Regions from separate parts of the Homo sapiens genome. Here all the other regions are linked to region 2. Evidence: promoter capture Hi-C in 16 types of primary human blood cells and fetal thymus (Javierre and others, 2016). All regions are on one chromosome and are shown on one strand. The core of a region is centred on a gene start or on the middle of the fragment in contact, and the rest is flanking DNA. Distances in the headings are between cores, read along the strand shown.

Evidence for each region. Contacts are between HindIII fragments. The CHiCAGO score rates a contact against its expected background, and 5 or more counts as called.
Region 1: a contact is called between a fragment that was not itself captured here and the fragment with the promoter of ALOX5 in region 2, in 1 of 17 cell types (total B cells). The highest score is 5.2, in total B cells.
Region 3: a contact is called between a fragment that was not itself captured here and the fragment with the promoter of ALOX5 in region 2, in 1 of 17 cell types (erythroblasts). The highest score is 5.1, in erythroblasts.
Region 4: a contact is called between a fragment that was not itself captured here and the fragment with the promoter of ALOX5 in region 2, in 1 of 17 cell types (M0 macrophages). The highest score is 5.3, in M0 macrophages.

The regions. Positions count from the first base shown.
Region 1 is chr10:45,631,978-45,635,161 of GRCh38, reverse strand. The region is part of intron 6 of ZFAND4 (zinc finger AN1-type containing 4); the gene reads left to right. Among named protein-coding and RNA genes, the nearest start is that of ZFAND4, 39 kb to the left of the region's middle. The HindIII fragment of the contact is 5,595 bases long and covers 1-3,184 here.
Region 2 is chr10:45,372,781-45,376,051 of GRCh38, reverse strand. It overlaps ALOX5 (arachidonate 5-lipoxygenase), which reads right to left and starts at 1,836. Exons shown (of 14, transcript NM_000698.5): 1 at 1,623-1,836. The coding sequence starts at 1,772. RefSeq lists enhancers at 849-1,457, 1,458-2,068. The HindIII fragment of the contact is 7,754 bases long and covers 1-3,271 here.
Region 3 is chr10:44,987,180-44,990,321 of GRCh38, reverse strand. It overlaps RASSF4 (Ras association domain family member 4), which reads right to left. Exons shown (of 11, transcript NM_032023.4): 7 at 947-1,048; 8 at 601-652. Among named protein-coding and RNA genes, the nearest start is that of DEPP1, 9.9 kb to the right of the region's middle. The HindIII fragment of the contact is 6,881 bases long and covers 1-3,142 here.
Region 4 is chr10:44,964,314-44,967,604 of GRCh38, reverse strand. The region is part of intron 1 of RASSF4 (Ras association domain family member 4); the gene reads right to left. LOC105378281 (a long non-coding RNA gene) reads left to right here. Exons shown (of 2, transcript XR_945915.4): 2 at 1-506. Among named protein-coding and RNA genes, the nearest start is that of RASSF4, 6.2 kb to the right of the region's middle. RefSeq lists enhancers at 1,030-1,324, 1,335-1,604, 2,976-3,075, 3,196-3,255, 3,266-3,291. The HindIII fragment of the contact is 4,203 bases long and covers 1-3,291 here.

The DNA of each region.
Region 1 (3,184 bases), core at 456-2,955, 260 kb before region 2:
GGTTCCATGTAAATTTTAGGATTATTTTTTCTGTTTCTGTGAAAAATGTCATTGGTATTTTGATAGAGATTATGTTGAATTTGTAGATTGCGTTGGGCAGTATGGACATTTTAACAATATTAATTCTTCCAACTCATGAACATGGAATATTTTTTCATATTTTTGTGTCGTCCAATGTTTTATAGCTTTCATTATAGAGATCTTTCACTTTTTTAGATAAGTTTATTCCTAGGTATTTTATTTTACTTTATTTGTAGCTATTGTAAATGAGATTACTTTCTTGATTTTTTTAGATTATTGTTGGTATATAGAAATGCTACTGGGTTTTGTATGTTGATTTTGTATCCCGCAACTTTACTGAATGTGTTTATCAGTTCTAATCGTTTTTTGGTGCAGTCTTTCTGTTTTTCCAAATACAAGATCATATTATCTGCAATCAAGGATAATTTGACTTCCTTCTTTCAAATTTGTATGCCCTTTATTTCTTTCTCTTGTCTGATTTCTCCAGCTAGGACTTCTAGTACTAGTACTTCTTTTCATTTAGGGTTCCTGATGATAATTCTCTCAGCATTTGTCTGAAAACTTATTTTACCTTTTTAATTTTGAGAAATGTTTAATTCTTTTTTTTTTTTTTTGAGATGGAGTCTTGCTGTTGCCCAGGCTGGAGTGCAGTGGTGTGGTCTCGGCTCACTGCAACCTCCACCTCCTGGGTTCAAGCGATTCTCCTCCCTCAGCTTCCCGAGTAGCAGTAGCTAGGACTACAGGCATGAGCCACCATGCCCAACTAATTTTTGTATTTTTAATAGAGATGGGGTTTCACCATGTTGGCCAGAATGGTCTTGATCTCTTGACCCCGTGATCTGCCTGCCTCGGCCTCCCAAGGTGCTGGGATTACAGGCATGAGCCACCGCGCCTGGCTGAGAAATGTTTAATTATTTAGAAATGTTATAAGACTAGATTCATCAATTAATATTTTCCCACATTTGCTTTCTGTTTGGATTTTTCTTTAGCTGATCTATGTGCAAGTTAGATATCATGACACTTCCCCTAAGTACTTTATTTATTATGTATCTCCTAAGAATAAGGGCCACCTTTTACATGATTATGATACAGTTACCATACTCATTTATGATTGATACACATTATGTCATCTATATTCATATTTCCCAGGTCTTAATAATGTGCTTAATAGCATTTTATATTGTTTTTAATCTGGGATCCAATCAAGAATGATGCATTGCATTTCGTTGTAATGTTTTCATAGTCTCCTTTTATACAAAACTGTTTCTAAGCCTTATTTGGACATGCATGTAAAATATTTTTGAAGAATATAGATCAGTTGTTTTGTAAAATATTCTTCAATTTGGAGATTTGGCTGTTTCATTATGATTAGATGGAATTTGAACATTTTTGGTAGGAATACTACACAGATGATTTATTCTTCTCAGTGCAACACATCAGAAGGCACATAATGTTAATTTGTAGTAGTTTCTTTTTCGTTTTTTTTTTTAAAGAAAATTTGCAATTTTAGTTGGTATTTCCTCATTAGTCCAAGAGTATTTTAATATATTTTGAAAATGTTCTGGTGGCAGAGGCTTTTTGGTTTTTCTTTTTCTTTTCTTTTCTTGTTTTTAGAGGTGGGAGTCTCACTATGTTACTGAACTCCTGGGACCAAGGGATCTTCTCATTTCAGCCTCCCACGTAGCTGGGACTATGTGTGCAGCACCATGCCGGGCTTGATTTTTCATTGTTTTTAATTTCTAGTTTTATTGCATGGAACTCAGAGAATATTGTTTGTATTTCTACTTTATAGCATTTTATTCTTTGGGATCTAATAGCACTTTTCATGAATATATACCTCAGAAGACAGTTTATTCTCTATCAAAAAGGTAAAAGTTTGCTAGATATTTATAAGATAGACCTTATTAAAGTTTTTTTTTTTTTTTGTCAACTTGATCTGTCTTAGAATGAGAATGGTAATAGATGAAGGTCTATTATTCATAGGTTTCTGTGTATTTCTCTTTTCATTTCTCATACTTTTTGCTGTAAGAAAGTGGTAGTTGTGTAATTTGGTACATAAATATTAATAACATATTTTCACTGTGTTGCTAGTTACAAAAGTAGTGAAATGTTTCATCTCTATCACATTCACTGACTTTCCCCTTGAATTTTCCTTGCCTGATATCAGGCCCATACCTACTGGTATCTTCTTGGTTTCATTTGCTTGGTATACCTTTTCCCATGTCTCTATTTATTAACTTTTAAGTTACTTTGTTTTACATATTTCCTTTATATACACTATAGAGTTGGTTTTTGCTTTGTGAGCCAGCTTGAAATTTTAAAACAGGTAACTTAATCACGTTTATATTTATTGATATGACTTCATATTTGGTCTTAAATGTCTTATTTTGTTATACTTACAGTTTCCTTCTCTATGCTTTCTTTTGTGTGTATCTGTATATATGAATGTGTAAGGGTGTATTTTTTGGTATTTCAGAAGGCTTTTGCATTTTGTTTTATTGATTCACTTTACATTAATACTATTTATCATGTTCTTGATCTGCCTTTTCCTTATTTAACCTTCTCCTCTTTTATTTGCCAGCTTTAAATATCCTTTGACTCCTAATTACTAAGTGAAAATCAGTGAACTTATTTTTTTCTCTTCTCTCTTCATCCTCTCATTAAAAATTTTTTTCTACTTTTTTAAAGAAAACATAGCCTTTACAAATCATTTTTCTTTCTACTCACTCTTATTTTAGTTTTAATTTTATTCCATCCTTTTTATTTATTCACTTATTTATTTTGAGATGGAGTCTTGCCCTGTCACCCAGGCTGGAGTGCAATGGCACGATCTTGGCTCACTGCAACCTGTGCCTCCTGGGTTCAAGCAATTCTCCTGCCTCAGTCTTCTGAGTAGCTAGGATTACAGGCGTGTGCCACCACACCCGGCTAATTTTTTTTTTGTATCTTTACTAGAGACGGGGTTTCACCATGTTGGCCAGGCTGGTCTCGAACTCCTGACCTTGTGATCCACCCACCTTGGCCTCCCAAAGTGCTGGGATTACAGGCATGAGCCACCATGCCCGGCCAATTGTATTCCATTCTTATGATCAGTCTTTTTGCTGTAGGTTTCCCCATACATTTTGGTTAGAAGAAGCTCATCTGAAGTCCTCAAGAAAGGCTT
Region 2 (3,271 bases), core at 587-3,086:
TGCTTCTAGAACCTTATGATGTGTGGAGGAGAATGGGGAGGAGGAAGCACTTACAAAGGGGAAGTAGCCTGTACCCTGTCCTTCTCCCCCAGGTGTGGGGAATCCATGAAATAATGGAAGTAAATGAAGGTGCGTCAGAAATGGCAGAGGGTGCCATCACCCTAAATGGACGACACATTAACTCCAGGGCACCGCAGTCCTCAGGGTCAGTTCCCCGACTGGGGCAACTAAGCAACTGAAGGTTGCTCTTGTACTCAACACCTAACTCTTCTTGAAGGGAGCTCAAGCCAGGATGCTAGTGAACTTGGCTGAGGGCCATGTCGTGCTACAGCGAGGGTATGGGCTCCTGGATAGGAATCGAGCCCATGGAGAGCTTGGAATCCAGAAAAAGAGTAGTTTTTACTTACTTTAGGCTCTGCACACCTAAAACACAAATTTTATCCAAGAGTAATCAGTTGAAACATGAACTTGCCGGTTGTATTTGTCCATTATGAGCAATTTCACAAGGTTTGATCAAATAATAAACTAAATGGTGAGAAGGCAGCTTGGTAAAGTCTAAATCTTTTTGGTCCAGTTAGGAGCTGGGGTGGGGTGGAAGGGAACTGATATTCCCTGCGCACCTGCAGTATGTCTGGGACTATTACCAGTCATTTACGGAGCGCTTCCTCTGTGCCAGGTACTGGATTAGGCACTTCATTAAAGGCTCAGTGAGAACTGCGACCTGCCCATGCTCATGGAAAAGAGTCGTGGGGCTGGAATTCAGGTCCAGATCAGCATTAGGAACTAGCTTCCAAATGCTGAGGGCTCCCTCGCGTCCTCACACCTAGCGTGGAAGTGTTCCCTGGTGTACATTCTGCTGGGAGGGAGTGCAGCCCCTCCATTTAGGAAAAGCCTCTCCTGGCCTGGGTTCTGTTCCTTCCCTTTAATTTCCTCTGGGGACTGTCCTGAGAATGTAAGCTGCCCAGGTGCCGTCTGAGCCACCAGATGGGCCTGGGCTCACCCATGACTCATGGACCAGACTGAAGCCAACCCTCCATTTTCAGCTGGGGAAACTGAGGCCCAGACAGACGGTAGAGTGAGCTGGTGGTCATGTCTGGACAGAACTCAGGCCTCTGGACCCGCTGACGTGCACCCTTCCCCACGGCTCACAGCTGGCTGCTCCGAGGTGCCCTCAGAGTTCTGTGAGCATGACTCATCTGCCTCTCCCTCCCTGTGCGACCTGCAGAAGGAGCCTAAGGAAGAGGTGGCACAAGAAACGCGGCCCAGTGAAGGGGGCTCCGGAGCCTCGGAGCCCAGATCTTGAAGTGGAGGGGAAACCTTGGGCCTTCTCCTCCCAGGGAAGACGCCTTGCAGGCGGCACGCGGGAAGTCTCCGTTTCCGACAGGGGTCGCGGCCGCCGCGAGGGGTCCTGGACGCTTGCCCACCAGGGTACCCACCGGCCACTGGGAGCCCAGGGCACGCCCCACCGCAGTTCTGCCCTCCCTGACAGGGTCCTGGACACCCCCAGTCCTGTCCGGGCCGCCCCGACGGGCCCTCGGCGCCCCCGCCCAGGCCTCTGCCGTCCAAACCGGGTCCCGGACGCACCTCAGCCCGCGCTCCACCCGTGCCCCGCCCGCGCTCACCGCGCCACGCTCGAAGTCGTTGTAGAAGGGCTTGTCCAGCAGGTGCTTCTCGCTGCAGCCCGCCGAGCCCACGAGGCTGAGGTAGATGTAGTCGTCAGTGCCGGCGAACCACTGGCTGCCAGTGGCCACGGTGACCGTGTAGGAGGGCATGGCGCGGGCCGCGGGAGCAGCGAGCGCCGGGAGCCTCGGCGCGGCGGTCCAGGTGTCCGCATCTAGCGCCGCAGCCTCCTCCCACCACTGGTCCCTGGCCCCGGTCCCGGCCCCGCCCCGGTCTGGCTCCAGGCTCCCGGCTGCCCCCGCCCCCGCCCCCGCCCCCGCCCCCGCCCCCGCAGTACTTCTCTCCCACTCTTCACGCGGCGCCGACTGGGCGGGACCTCGCCTCGGGCGGGGCAGGGGCCTCGCTCCTGGGTCTCTCCTCAGCGAGGTGTCTGTTCCTGCAGCCAGGGGACTGGGGCAACCTCGGCTGCCACCCCTCATCCATTCGTTCACTCGTTCTCTCCTGAATTGCTTCCACCCTTTGCCCTGCCTGCCTGCCTCGGCTTCGCCCAAGGCCAGGCTCCTGTAGGCCCTGGGGTGGAGCTGCGGGGACTCCCTACAAATCTAGGCACAGCCTCTGCTCTCCCCAAGTTCTCAGTGCCACTTGCGGTACTTGGAGCAGGGGTGCTCCGGGAGTCTGCAGAGGAAGAGCGACCCATGAGAGAATCAGAAGGGCTTCCTGGAGGAGGCCACCCCAGCGCTGATACTGAGGATGGATTCTGGAGCACAGAGGCTCCTTCAGCGCGGGCTTCTTCACTGGCTGGACCTGCGGCTCCTGGCGGGGGCAGGCGGGCGCCGAGACCGCGCCCAGGCCCAGAGATGGCCAGTGGTCGCGGGAGGCAGGCGGGACGGCACATCTGGACATGCGGGGCTGTCTAGGGGAGGCCAGGGGTCACGGGTCGGCTCTCTGAATCGCGGCGGGCAAATGCCTGGAAGGGTGTGGAGAAGGTTTCGCGCGCTCCTGGGCGGCTTCCCGCGGCTGGGGCCTGACCCCCAGGTTCCCGCCCACTCCTGGCGCCCGCCTCTCCCAGCCCCGCCGGCAGCGCAGGGTCTGACGGGCACACAGTCGCGTGTATTGATCTCGGCTAAGTTTAAACACTAGCTCACCGTGCGTGGGGCGGCGGGGATGTGAAGTCCCCAAAGGCGGCTGCCTACATTCTCACCAACGCTTCATGTCTGTGAAGCAGCAGAGTCCCTGTAGCATCTCCTCATACTGTCTTGGGTTTGTGCACCTGGCAAATGGCTTTGAACATCTTTTCACATGCTTGTTGGATATCTGTATATTTTTGGAGAGATGTATATTCAGATGCTTGACTCTTTGGAAAACTGGGCTATTTATCTTTTTTATCATTGAATTGCATTATTTATATATCCTGGATAGAAGTCTCTAATCGGATACATGACTTACAGACATTTTTATTGCTTCTGCGGGTTGTGTTTTCACTTTCTTGATGATGTTTGAAGCACAAAAGTATTTAACTTTAAGTCCAATTTCTTTTGTCGCTTGTGATTTTGGGGTCCTATCTGAGAAACCACTGCCTACAATAACATCTTAAAGATTTACTCCTAGGTTTTCCTCTAGGATTATTATAGTTTTAGCTTTTCATTTACAT
Region 3 (3,142 bases), core at 190-2,689, 390 kb after region 2:
TCCTTAATCTGTCTTTTGTTAATCTAAATACAGGGCCCCAGCCAGTGAACCTAAATGGGTAGAAAGAGAAGATAATTTTCCTCCCCTACAGTGTCATTCAGCAAAGGTGCAGCTTGAAGAGAAACAAGATCTGAGGGGTGGGAGAAAGGAAAGCTGAGACGGGAGGGCCAGGGCCTGATGCACTGCGACACGCACCCCACCCTTCCTGACTCGGCGCCAAGGAGCTAGGTACCCACCCATCCATTTCTCTGGAAGAGGCGGAGAGGGAGGCTTCCTATAGCTTGGTGGGATTCTCCTTCAGAATCCTGAAAGAATTAAACTTAATGTACTGAGCGACCTAGAAAATCCAAGGACATTTTAATGTGCTTTAAATTCGAAGCCAAAAGTATGTTTTCTTTTCCTCAAGGCTTCCATAGTGTGCCTGGGTTTGGGTGGGGGAGAAATGTTCATGCTGGGAGGCACAGTGTGCCCTAGCCCACTAGGCAAGCCAGCACGGAGCCCATCTGGAAGGGAGTACAGTCAGTGGTTGGTGGGGAGGGGGCTTGCTGAACAGGTAGAGACCTTTTGCTTTTACGATCCAGAAGTGGGGCAGGTACTTACCCCCAGACTCGTGAACGATGTAGAGTGCGAACTCACTGGGGCCATCTTCCACCTGCACAGGCAGTCACAGGAAGTCAGATCACGGTGCTTGGAGATGGGAGAGAACTGAGAGGGTCCCCTGACAGTAACTACACCCCCAGTAACACACACGCAAGTTGCAAGGAACCTGTCCTCTCCCAACCTCCTCTTGCTTGAAATCCGAGAAACCAAAGCTCAGCAGAGGGACCCTTGCTAGACCTTCTGCCCAGGCAGCTTCTGCCACGGGCAGCTTTCCCCAGAACCCCACCCCCAACAGAATAGCAGACCACTGGCATCCTGGGGCAAGGCTGCTCCTGACCAGGCTTACCCTAAATTTGTTCAGCAGCAGGGTGAGCACCTGCAGGGTTGTCATGGTGCTGTTGACCCTCACATTGGTCACGGATCCATAGGCTGGAGTAAACACGGAGGTCTGTACCAGGAAGGGAGAGAAGTTCAGGTCAGGCCCAGAGGGGACAAGGGACTGACATCACAACGGTGAACAGACCAAGGCAGCAGGTGACGCTGAGATCTGGGAACACCTGCACCTGTCCATTCACGCTGATGCACACATAAGCTGTTCCCAGACCTGGGAGACACTCCGGGAAGCTGTAGTAGTGCACTCCTTCCAGAGGCCTAAGGAAGATGTCTACACACCCAGAAGGGCCAGCTCTCTGGACCCGAGGAACCAGGGCCATGGAAGTCATTCACAAGGGTGGGGGAATCAGTCTCTCCATCACTCTTTCTATTGATTAAGTCACCAGTTGTCTGTTGATTCTAAGGCTGAAAGTTACCCAATCTGTCTCCTCCTCTTCATTCTCCCAGCAGTGCCTAGTAGAGGCACTGATCACACCATATCAGCTTCCCAGCTTGTTCCCTTCTGGTCTCAGTCCCTCTAATCCGTAGTCTGCACCGCTGCCTACAGGAACGGACTTCTAAAACCCTTGCACCTCCAAGTGACGTCTAGCCCAGCTGCATCCATACAGTCTCGGCTCCCTTCCCTACCCTGCTCCATACCATCTGAATCAGAGTCTGCGTCTGTAGAACACAAGGCGAAGCGATCTGTGCAGTTCAATGTGAGAAGCACTGTTTGAAAGCGCGGGTCTAAAAGTATCTGAAGGCTTCCTGGGGACTGTGCAATAACATCTGTAGTTCTTCTCATTGTCTCGCACGTATGACACTATGGTTGCCTAACAAGCACCATGTGCTCCAGTCACAGAGCTTCTTCACAATTTGGCTGGGGGGTGGGGGGACACATTATATTTTTGCAGGTATCTTGCCTTTGCCTAAGAGACACCATATATGAAATCAACCAGGACTCTGCCTGACACATAATAGGTCCGTCCTCAATAAACCCTAGCTGTGTATTGAACCCGCTAAGATTTTACATACAATCATTGATTTAATATTCATAACAACCCTTTGAGGCAGCTATAACTAGTCCCCTTTTCTTAGAAAGGAATCAGAGGCTTTAGGAGGTTAACCAGCTTGTTCAGAGTTACCCACCTAGAAAAGACAGAGCCCTGACTCAAAGGATTCCATGATTCCTGAAAACCTACATGTTACCCCCCTGGTGCTGGTGCCTCCCAGCGAATGTGACTCCTCTGCAGGTGAACCTCTCCTTGCTTTTCAAACTCAAGTTTAGATTCGCATATTCCTCCTCTGAGATCCTAGCTCTGTTTTCCCAAGGAGGTAGCTAAGGCTCAGAGAGCTCAAGGACCTATTCAGTATCCCCGCTCTGATAAGTCCAGGCACACCTGGGAGCCATTGTGAGTTCAGGTCCAGACCATCACAATGAAGCGAATATCTCAATAAAGTGAGTCACACAAATGTTTTGGTTTCCCAGGGCATATACAAGATATGTTTATACTATACTGTAGTTTCTTAAGGGTGAGACAGTACTACATCTAAAAAATATGCATGCCTTAATTAAAACTACTTTATTGCTAAAAAATCTGACACAGAGACACAAAGTGAGCACATAGTGTTGGAAAACGGCACCGATAGACTTGTTCAACACAAGGTTGCCACACACCTTCAATTTGCAGAAACCGCAGGTGCAGCAAAAAAAAAAAAAAAAGTGCACATTTTTGCAAATGGAAGGTTGCTGAACAGCAACCTTCCATTTGCAAAAATCTGCAAGGTACAGTAACAAGAAGCACAATAAAATGAAGCACGCTGTGCCAGAGTCAGACTCAACCTCGACCTGCTTCCCCCAGCTCGATTCTAGTTGAGGTGCAGAATGACTGAGTTATACAGAAAGCCAGGATTAGGATTAGGCTTTCTTGTCCAAAGAAATATGGAAGAGAGGGCCAGGTGCAGTGGCTTACGCCTGTAATCCCAGCACTTTGGTAGGCAAAGGCGGGCGGATCACGAGGTCAGGAGTTCAAGACCAGTCTGGCCAATATGGTGAAACCCTGTCTCTACAAAAAATACAAAAATTAGCCAGGCATCGTGGTGCGCACCTGTAGTCCCAGCTACTCAGGAAGCAGAAGAATCGCTTGAACCTAGGAGGTGGAGGTTGCAG
Region 4 (3,291 bases), core at 792-3,291, 410 kb after region 2:
TAAAAGTCTCCAATGGCCACGGAGGTGACTCCGCTGAGGGACATTCGTCACGGGGTCCATGGGGAATGGGGGGCACATTCCTTCTTCGACGGGGCAACTCTTTTGGCGTTTCATAAGAAGCCAGGAATCTGGATTTTTCTGGGCTATATTTCACTACTGAAAGGTGGCTGGCTGGCAGAGGCATGCACTGTCCCTGGAATGCCCGTGTGGTCGCTCACCACCCCGGCCCTCTGCAGCTAGCTGGGGCTGTGGGCCTCATTCTGACCACTGAGCTGCGAACAAAAGTGTTGTGGGTCCCTTCCAGGCCAGCAGCTTTAAGAGCCAGTGCACAACCCTCCAGTTCTCCTGTCTCCACCGTGGTGACCCAGAAAGCCATGTGTTTCAAGCCATGTGCAGCTACTCGATGGTCAGCCTGGGTCCCTGAGTGACTGTGGACCAGAACTGTCTGCCAACCCACACTGGATATGGACTGAGAGGGAGAAATAAACCTCTGCCGTGACAAGCCACTGGTGTATCAGGGATTTGTTACTGCAGCATAACCCAGACCAAGTCTCATGCAATACATAATCCAATCAAAACAACAAATATTTAATGTAATATTTTGTATTTAAATATGTTTATAAATAAACTAAACATCTTTGCAAGACAGATACACCTAGTGGTGAGACAGGAATAATACAGATGGTCACAGGAGAATAGAAAATTCTAGGCAGCCATTTCACATGACCAGCAAAAGGAAACTGTTAAAATAAGGGTCATAAGAAGCTAGGGGTCATAAGACTCTAAAAAAATCAGAGTGTGGGCCAAGCTGGCTAAGACCAACTGAAACCAACGTGGTGCTGGATTCGACCTAGGTTTCTTCTAGGACCTCACTATACGCTCATTAACCAGGCAACTCTCTGAGATGCTAAATTACACACCCACAGGCACCATGACAGTTCCAGAACACCCATATTTCATGTAAAAATGGGTGGCACCACAGTTTCAAGAAAGTTCCACCTTTTTCCAGGAATCTTCTTGGATATTGCACCCCTTGGTTAAAGAAACCCATAAAGGAAGCAGCTCCCAACCCCCTTGCACACTCTCCCTTCTTGAGTGTGTACTTTCACTATTTTCTGACTCATATGGGAAGGAATTCAAGGAGTCAAGAGCCTGGACATCAGCTGGGGTCGAAGTCCCACCAGTGTTTGGGGACCTCTCCTAGTCCACTGGACAGTGAGGCTCCAGTTTGTGACTTCTGATTCACGACACGGCATGATTTACATTTACTTCCGGTCTCCTATAGTGTGTGGGGAAGAAGTTCATTTTGCCATATGTAGTAGGAACACTTAGAAGTGGAATTTCCCATAAGTCAGGCAGTGGTTACTTATTCATAGAAAATGCTTCCTAAAGAGCTCTGGGGTGCTTCGTTGCATGCCTTCTCCTCTCTGGGCCTTAATTTTCCCATCTGTACAACAAGAATATTGACCTCCAATGGGTTTGAAATTTTCTTAACTGTGGAACTCTTTGTTCAAATAGAAAATGTATGCAAAACAGATTAAAGGGGATTGCCGTGGTTGACAGTGAGGTGGTGGTGGCAGAGAGCCTCATCTTCTAGAGCTCTGGGTAATACTACTTGAAAAGCATGGTTCTCCCTCACTGGCCTTCAGGAGTGCTTTTCCCCTGCACGCCTGCTTATTTATAGGACACAACCAACGTGTTGAGTGTCTCCGGCCATGACTGAATGGCACCAGCTGGGGGCACCTGCTCAGAGGAGACAGACCAGGAGGAAAGTAAAGGAGAGTCCTAGGCTGCAGATGGCAAAGTGAAGGGATAAAGGGCAAGGTGGGCTTGTAGGGTAAACAGCTGGGGCAGAGAACGGGGCACACCATCCCAGGGGAGGGCAGGGGGGTCAGCGAGCAAAGCTAAGGGAGGTGGCTCAGGGCCCACTGCAGCAAAAGGAGGTTTTTCCAGCTTGCTGGGCTGGGTCCTGAGCCTTACAGGGTGGGAACCTTGGCTCCACACAAAGAGAGTCTCTCCTTTGAGAGAGGCACACATTTCTGTGTCCTCCAGCACTCATTAGCTTCATGGCCCTAAGCAAGGGAAGGAGATGAAAATATTTTATCCCCAACATATATTTCTTTGACGTATTCTTAAATGGCTGCCACTTGCCCATCCTGAAAGAAGTGGCTAGCAGAGTGTCTTCAGTGGGAAAATTTGCATCTGTAGAGAATCTCCATTAATGCAGCCAGGCCCCCTCCCCTTTCCAGATCTTTCCCCACATCCAGGAGAGACTGAGAATCCACACCTTTAAAAGTCTCTTTGAGGGAGGCTTCATCTACATAACAAGGTCACTTTCACTAGCCAAGCCTCTCCTCCTTCCATAGCCTGTTTCACCAGAATCTAAGCCCCATTCTTTCTGTAACCTCAAAATGGTATATAAGTCTCTGTTACTCACTGGGAAGCTGGACCATCATTCTGAAGGCTCCCATGCATGCACCTTAAGTACATGTGTATGACTTTTCTCCTATTAATCAATCTGCCTCATGTCTGTGATTTTTAGTGAAACTTTAAGGGGCCAAGAGCCTATGGCTCCCACAAAAGTCACTTGGTCTCTCTGGTTCTCAGAGCCAACACCGCAAGAAGACCTGTTTTTCCTGAGCTCCAGGATCACTCACAGAATTCCACTGCAGATCTCAACACTGTGCTTGCGCCCTATCCCCTTTACCAGACTTTCATTCATTTTGATGAATTTAATCGTTTTGACATCACATCTACAGGAAACTGCATGAGTACCTAAGGGGTGTCTGAAAGACAGCTGTGGCAGCAGCAAACTGCAAGGGGGAACACGCACACCCAACAGGAGAGGAAAGGGAGCCATCTCTCTATTTGGAGCATTTTCCTGGAACAGCCTTTTGCATTGAATCTCCAAGTGCACTGGGTGGGGCCTTTGAGAATCTCTGCTGGAGTATTTTTCAGTCTTTTATAAACAGCACAACCTTATCTTGAAATTAGATCCTAGGTAGAAGCCCAATACACAAATGGATTAAAGCGAGGCTGCATGGGTGGCAGCAGGAGTCAGGAGAGGATGGGCTGGGGCTGGCCTGCCACCCAGGCTCAGGCTCAAAAAACCACAGAGTGACAGATGCAGCTGGACAGGCCAAGTCGGCCAGCAGGCTCTCCCCTCCTCCAAGCCGTGCCATTCTGCTGGGAAAGTACAGCTTTCTTTGTCTGGGCCCGTTCCCCTCCCCCAGGTCCCAGGACATAGCTCAGGCCTCCACGCCTGTTTCCCAGGCTGGAGGACACTCTGTC